Regions from separate parts of the Homo sapiens genome. Here region 2 is linked to region 1. Evidence: promoter capture Hi-C in 16 types of primary human blood cells and fetal thymus (Javierre and others, 2016). All regions are on one chromosome and are shown on one strand. The core of a region is centred on a gene start or on the middle of the fragment in contact, and the rest is flanking DNA. Distances in the headings are between cores, read along the strand shown.

Region 1 (3,826 bases), core at 570-3,069:
GGAGTTCAAGACCAGCCTGACCAAGATGCTGAAACCCCATCTCTACTAAAAATGCAAAAATTAGCCGGGGGTGGTGGCATGTGCCTGTAATCCCAGCTACTCAGGAGGCTGAGTCAGGAGAATTGCTTGAAGCCAGGAGGCGGATGTTGCAGTGAGCTGAGATCACGCCACTGCAACCCAGCCTGGGCAACAGAGCAAGACTCTGTCTCAAAAAAAAAAAAAAAACCCAAAAAACAAAAAAAACAAAAAACATTACTGAAGAATATCCATGAAAAGCAAAACACCCAAACTTTATGTTTTATTTTACGTTTTAAATTTTTTTTTTATTTTAATAGGAACAGGGTCTGTTACCCAGGCTGGTCTCAAACTTCTGGGCTCCCAGACTCCTGGGCTCAAGCTATCCTCCCACATTGACCTCCCAAAGTATTGGGATTACATGCATGAGCCACCACACCCAGCCCCGATATCAAAACTATAAACAAAGACAGAATCTCACTCCAAACTTGCATGACTCATTTCACAGTACCTTCCCCTAATCTTGGCCCTGTTCTACAGCCTAAGTACCTGGTTCAAATCTCAATTCTGTCATTTACTATTTGTGTGATGTTAGATAGTTACTTTTTTTCATCACAGTTTCTTGATCTGTAGAATGGGGATAATAATGGTATCTCCATTATAAGATTATTGTGAGGATTAGATGAGCTGGGCACATGGCAGATGCTACATAAATGTTGGCCATTATCCTGAGAGTCCTGTTGAGTGGCAGATGTTTTTATATCTGTTACCATGCTTTTTTACCCCTTCTGATTAAGTCCTCAGATCTGTTATCATGCTTGAAAAGACCTCAGAACTATATGTGTCTTGTACAACTGCAATAATCTTTTGCCATGTACATATAGCATATATCAATCATCTTTTTTAAAAGAAGGATTAAAAGAAGTGACTGCAAAGTGTAAAAAATCTTGCCTTGGATTGGAGTGAAGCTAACCCCTTTTGCAAGTCTGTTAATTCCACCTGACCATCAAACTGAGGGTGCGAATTTGAGTATTTCCTGAAGCTGGTTCCCAAGATATTTTTAAAAATGCTTTGAATGATGGCAACATTAGATAAGTGTATTGTTTCCCAGGGTGACTAGGAAAAAAATCTTATTGACTAGGGTGCATTGGGATTAAGAAAAAGATCTCCCTTTCGTAAATCAGAGGCACCAAGGAAAGGATCTCGTGGGAAAAACCTGCTGTCAAAGTCGGATTACCTGGCCACCCCTGAGCTGGTTCCCCTCCAGTTCATCGCATGATTTCTATCATAACAACTCTTGTATTTAGTGGTTTACATGTTTATCTCCCCCACTAGACTCTCTGAGAACAGTAGCCAGGTCTAGTTCATTTTTGAATACCTGACACCAAGCACTATGCCACCTAACAGGCACAAATTACATATTTAACGACTAAATGAATGAACGAAATTCGGTTTTGGCAGATTTAACCCAAAGGTTTCCTCTTTCAAACAATATAGTTGGGGGTTGGAGGAAAGGAGCCACATACAGCATCTCCTTTTAGCACTCTGCAGAGAATGCTAAGTGCAGAGAAGGTTTTATGCACAAAAATATTCATGGCATTATAGTACCGTCTATGGCACAGTCTCGACGCAGGGGGCAGTTTTCTCTTGGTCGCCTGCCCAACCGGGTAAGTGGATCCCAGCTCAGCTCCGCCCCTCCCAGCCCAGCCCTCAGGGCCCGCTGCGCAAGCGCAGGTGGGGAGGGCGCGCACCTTCCCTATGCCCCTCCGTCCTCCAGGTGGCGCTGGAGACCCCGCCGCCGCCGCAGCCGCCTCTCGCCCGGCCAGACCCGGGCGGCGCCGGCCGCCTCGCCGGCCGCAGGTCCGCCTCCGCCGCGCCGAGGGCGTGGGCTCCCGGCTCCCGGAAGCGGCGGCCGCGGCGCGGAGCCGAGCGGGCGTCCGTCGCCGGAGCTGCAATGAGCGGCGCCCGGAGGCTGTGACCTGCGCGCGGCGGCCCGACCGGGGCCCCTGAATGGCGGCTCGCTGAGGCGGCGGCGGCGGCGGCGGCGGCTCAGGCTCCTCGGGGCGTGGCGTGGCGGTGAAGGGGTGATGCTGTTCAAGCTCCTGCAGAGACAGACCTATACCTGCCTGTCCCACAGGTATGGGCTCTACGTGTGCTTCTTGGGCGTCGTTGTCACCATCGTCTCCGCCTTCCAGTTCGGAGAGGTGAGTAGCGGCGCCGCAGCCTGGACCGGGCGCCTCGACCCTGCACTGCCCTCGCCGTGCCCCGCGATGCCCCGATACAGTATGTATTTTTTCATTATTAGAGACGGGGTTTTGCCATGTTGCCCAGGCTGGTCTCGAACTCCTGAGCTCAGGCGATCGCCCTGTCTCGGCGTCCCCGAGTGCTGGGATTACAGGCGTGAGCCACCGCTCCCGGCCAAATACAGTATTCTTTATCATAAACGTGTGCAGAGACTATGAGCAAGTCAGAACTGGAAAAAGGCATGTATGTGATTTTAGATATTGCTCCCTCGCCCACCGTTTTTTAAAAATAGAGACGGAGGTCTCCCTATGTTGCCCAGGTTGGTCTGGAAGTCCTGGGCTCAAGTGATCCTCCCTTCTTGGCTTTCTAAAGTGCTGGGGTTACAGGCATGAGCTACCGCACCTGGCCCAAGAAAGCCACTTTTAGCAACGGGGAGGAAAGCTGTATTTTTAAGTGGTTTGAAATCTGTTCCTTAGTTTTAGTTTTTTTCTTTTTCTTTTTTTTTTTTTTTTTTGGTAGGAGGTTACAAAAGGTTTTAAAATTTAACAGAGTAGTTTTTAGAAATGCCACAGTATACATTTGCTTGAAGTCTTTACCCATGCTGGATTGTAAGCTCCGTAAGAGAAGGTGCTGTCTGTAAATACTGTAACCCTGGCCCAAGCACAGTGCCAGGTACTGCCAGAGAATGCAGTGCAAGTGTTTGTTTAATGGCTAAATTATATGGCATGAATTCTGAGCATGTACTTTTTTAGTAGTTCTTGGTTCTAGAGGCTGGGAAAAAATGTCTTACCATAAGGGTGAGAAAGCTCCAGATTTGTAAGTGTGAAATATGTACTTAATATTATAGTACTTGCTCGTCTTTGTTTCATGTGTTGCAACTTAATGTATCTGTGTGTAGTTAGGTGCCTTATTGCTTTTGTGTGATTTTTTTGGCCTTGATTAATTTTGAGTTAACTGTTTATTAAGTCCCATGCAGTGTGAAGATGACTTAAAGGCATCAGGTGTTAGAATTCTTCATTTTATTTTATTTTTTTGAGACAGAGTCTTGCTCTGTTGCCCAGGCTGGAATGCAGTGGCTCCATCTCGGCTCATTGCAACCTCTACCTCTCAGGTTCAAGAAATTCTCCTACCTCAGCCTCCTGAGTAGCTGGGACTACAGGCGCGTACCACCATGCACAGCTAATTTTTGTATTTTTAGTAGAGATGGAGTTTCACTATGTTGGCCAGGCTGGTCTCAAACTTCTGACCTCAAGTGATCTGCCTGCCTTGGCCTCCCAAAGTGTTGGGATTACAGGTGTAAGCCACCGCACCTGGCCCGAATTTTTCATTTTATATCCTTTTCTTTTTGCTTTCATTCCATGCTTGGCTGTTTACCAAAAGAGAGACATTTTGTTGCAGTCCTGAAATGGCCACAGATCATAAGGTTTGGAACAGACAAGAGAAATGAGAGGCAGACAGTGCCAACAGGTGTCATGAGAGGTGAAGGCAGCTGGCCTGTGGTTAACTTGTAAGGCATAATGGAAAAGAGGAGCTGCATGATTAGGCAGATTTGGCCTTGATTGCTGAC
Region 2 (3,826 bases), core at 348-2,847, 270 kb before region 1:
TTTAAGGTAAAAATTCGGTCACTGGAAATAAATAATGGCATTTCAGCTCTTTAAAACATAGATTTTCCTAATCACAAGCATTTGGAATAATGAAACCTGCAAAGGGGAAAAATGAGTGTCTTTGCAAGCCAAGGAATGGCCTCTGAATAGTGAACGAAAGCCGGAGAGACCTAGGATCACACTCAGTAGTCTATGTTTTTGTTTGTTTGTTTTCTTATGACTCTGAGATTTTTTTTGTAAACTAGCAAAATTCTCTAAAAATTTAGGGGACTGACATAGGGTTGCTAACTTTTTATTTTGTCGAATATAAGACTTAAGTTTACTGCCTTCTACCACTATCATTTTGTAAAAGAAAGGACATTATTACTCTAAAAAGTAGGAAAGGAATAACTAAAGAGTAAGTCTTTTAGTTTAAATAAATTTAATTTTTTAAAAACCTGACTACATTGCCTCTAAGTTTCTCATTTTGCCAGACTGGTTGTTGATATTATTGTTCAACAAATATTTGCTTTCCTTTCACCTTCCCATGAAAGGAGATTTTCCCATCTAATTAGCCCTAGCTTTGTGAATTGTTTAGGCCAATGTAGCATTAACAGGTGTGACACAGCAGAAGCTTCAAATGTTTTGCCTGGCTTGACTTGACCTCCTGTGCTCTGTCATTTGCTATGAGATGAGCATGTCCTAGATAGCTACTGATCCCAGAATGAGAAACACGTGGAGCAGATATGGACCCATATGGCATTATGGAAACAGAGCTTCCCATAGACCCATGTGCAAGAAATTTATGCTTATTTCTGTAAACCACCGAGATTTTCGGGTTGATGCACAACATCAAACTAGGAGTATTTTTAGAATTTACAGCTTAGTTCACCAACCAAAAATAAACAACTCTGATTGGTTATTAAAGCCAAACCTCTTAGGCCAAAACCTAAGCAATATAGGTAAGATTTTTTTAAAAACAGAACGTATATAAAAACAAGTTTAAAATGAGAAAGAGTAGATAGTATCATACACTCTCATAGCAAGGAAAGAAGGAATTCTAAGAGGACATATGTGATAATGTAAGATTCTTACAATATCACATATATATTCTTACATTATCACATATGTGACAAGAGAGTATATCATATGAGCAGTTCTACAATATGTATTCTGTACTGTAAAGAGCAGACCCAGTGCTTACTTAAGAAAATTTAAAATAACCTCAATATTTTGATCTATGCATATTTTCTGATGTTTCACTTTGACATTTCCAAGAAAGACACTATATTATAATCAGCTAGCAGAATTTTGCCCTAGGAACACTATTTTAAAACAATCTGTGACCTGAATAGGTTCATGAAATGTATGTGTTGTATTGAAAATTGCCAAATTCTGAATCAAACAGAATAAAGAGTCGTACTGTGAACAAAGGTACCTCTGATAATACAAAATGTTATTATGGAAGATGATAGATTACATTTTATCTAAGACTCCATCTAATTTTACTATTCTATGATCTGTGCAAGTTTATAAGAAAATTGGGTTCTCATTAAAGTTGGTCTTTATCAGTTCCAACACTGCCTTTCTAACAAACATTTTATAATGCCTACCACACCTTTTTAAATGAAACTCACAGAAAATGTAGCCTTCCAAATATATAAGTACAGAAAATTATTATCGTCCCTTAATTTTATGATATATTCTATAAAAGGAAAACAAAGAGAATAATAATGCATTGTGTATAAGCTCAGATAACAACTACATATGAAGACATAGGTAGTCTTTCTTCTTCTTTACAATGAGTAAGACTGGATATCAGAAAAATAAGATAACATGAAAATGTAAGGCAGAGGCAAGGCAGTCAAGTTGCACAGTTGTAGAGATTTATGAGTTGTGTAGAGTATAATGTAAATAGTGCCATCTGGAGTTCTACAGTGTCATAGCGCTGAGCAGATCTACAGTTTTAGGATAAAAGCTCATGTTAGTAGTAATACAATGAAATTAAATCTCATTAGAGAAATAGGGAAATACAGGTAATCAAAATAGGAATAACATAGCAAGATAAATCATAGGATGTCAAGTTGAAAAAGTAAGATAATATTCTTGCAATATTTTCTGTATGAAAAGTATGACAAGTATATATCTTGATGAAGAAATATGTATCTTTATGAAAAAGGTGCCATTACTGAAACAAAAAGCAAGCGTCTGATAGATGTGTTTAATAAAAGAAATTCCCAAGTAAAGCATGGGGTTGCTAGTCATTCAGCCTTATATTCTACACCATTTTCTTTATGATCCCTCATCATGTCTACCATATGCAGATGCACTCACATGCATATACATGTATATATAAAAATATATGCACACATATATACACAGGTTGATAAAAATACTGATGCTTTATGTGTGTGTTTGTATATGCATATGCACAGAAAAATATAAATACGTTCATAGTTATGACCTAGTGTCATTGAAAGAAGGCTAAAATTATTACAGTATTTGAGAGGTAAAGAAGTGCATATTCATTTAGAAAAAATTATTATCTCCTCCTCCAAAAGAAGGTAAAAGTGTCATTTAAGTATTTAGTGGGTTAAGCTTATTATTTTTTAAAACTCACTAATACAGAACATCTCATTCCCAGTCATTGCCAAATAACAGATGTTCTTGTATATTAGAAACAGTACCATTCTGTAAGAACAAGTCAGATCAACAAGTATTTATTAAACACATTTAGTATACCCAATATTCAGTACTTTGGGGGATACAAAAGAAATACAAGACCTAGTACGCACTGTAACTACAAAGGATATCAGTAGTAAATCCCATCCCTCCTCCTCATCCCTCAATAATCTTTTAAAATATTAGATAAAAGTTTATGGTGAAAGAAAACTGACTTCTAGAAACCAGGGAATTTTTAGTTTAATAAAATATAGGTGTGCATATAATGTGCCATTCACTTTCTCTATAAAACATGAAATATTTGTAGTTGTCATGTTCTAACTGGGATCATTTTTTAAAAGAATGAGAGAAGGGTGGCATATAAAAAATAAAGAATAAGATATTAGAATGTAACCAAATCACTGTATAAAGGAATACTAAATTACCTAAGCTATTCACTAAGCCAGTAATATAGTTGTTTAAAAAATGTTGCAAGAGGAAAAATGATTTTTATCAAATTTGTTCTGTGTACCACATGCAAGCTATGTGTTTTTCATATTACCTTTGTTTATGTACATTTGAAAGTCTTTAAGATCCATAATTAAGATGGAGTGTTCTTCCTCCACCCCCACCCCAATTGAGATCACAAAATATGCAGTATACCTAAAAATAGTCCTTGTGGGAAACAGCAAAAAGGAAACTGAGAGCCTTCTGAAGGTAGGCCAATGAACCATTCTTTGGAAAGTAATCCACGTCTGGGAGTGCATAAACCATGCCCAGGTACAAAGTATAATCAGGATAATTTACATGATTTATTATACTGTTATAGTTAAAATTCAGGAAAAGTTCCCTGCTTGTCTTCTAAAACTCACTCTAATTTTTTCTAACATTTTGAATCAAGATCAGTAATTGCATAGTTCTAACAAGAGCCTTGAGAATGGGGTAAAATGGACACTTTGTGTTGAGCATGGCAATACTTTAGCTCCAGTGATGGAACATAGAGATTCTTTGTCGTTAAAAGAACTCTCCAAAAATTATACTAAAACACATTTATCACTTTTGCAGACATTTTTAAATTCAATGCAGTGAAATAGGGTGTTAATGAAAGACTGTAATAGAGTAGAAGTCAGTAAAGTGAAGAAAACATTTTCTAAAACTTGACATGATCATTTACTGGTAAAATCAC

What was found. Contacts are between HindIII fragments. The CHiCAGO score rates a contact against its expected background, and 5 or more counts as called.
Region 2: a contact is called between a fragment that was not itself captured here and the fragment with the promoter of GNPTAB in region 1, in 1 of 17 cell types (neutrophils). The highest score is 5.3, in neutrophils.

Annotation. Positions count from the first base shown.
Region 1 is chr12:101,828,952-101,832,777 of GRCh38, reverse strand. It overlaps GNPTAB (N-acetylglucosamine-1-phosphate transferase subunits alpha and beta), which reads left to right and starts at 1,819. Exons shown (of 21, transcript NM_024312.5): 1 at 1,819-2,219. The coding sequence starts at 2,103. RefSeq lists silencers at 1,637-2,036, 2,393-2,687. The HindIII fragment of the contact is 15,537 bases long and covers 1-3,826 here.
Region 2 is chr12:102,093,950-102,097,775 of GRCh38, reverse strand. All of the region lies in intron 5 of NUP37 (nucleoporin 37), which reads left to right. Among named protein-coding and RNA genes, the nearest start is that of NUP37, 24 kb to the left of the region's middle. The HindIII fragment of the contact is 1,964 bases long and covers 616-2,579 here.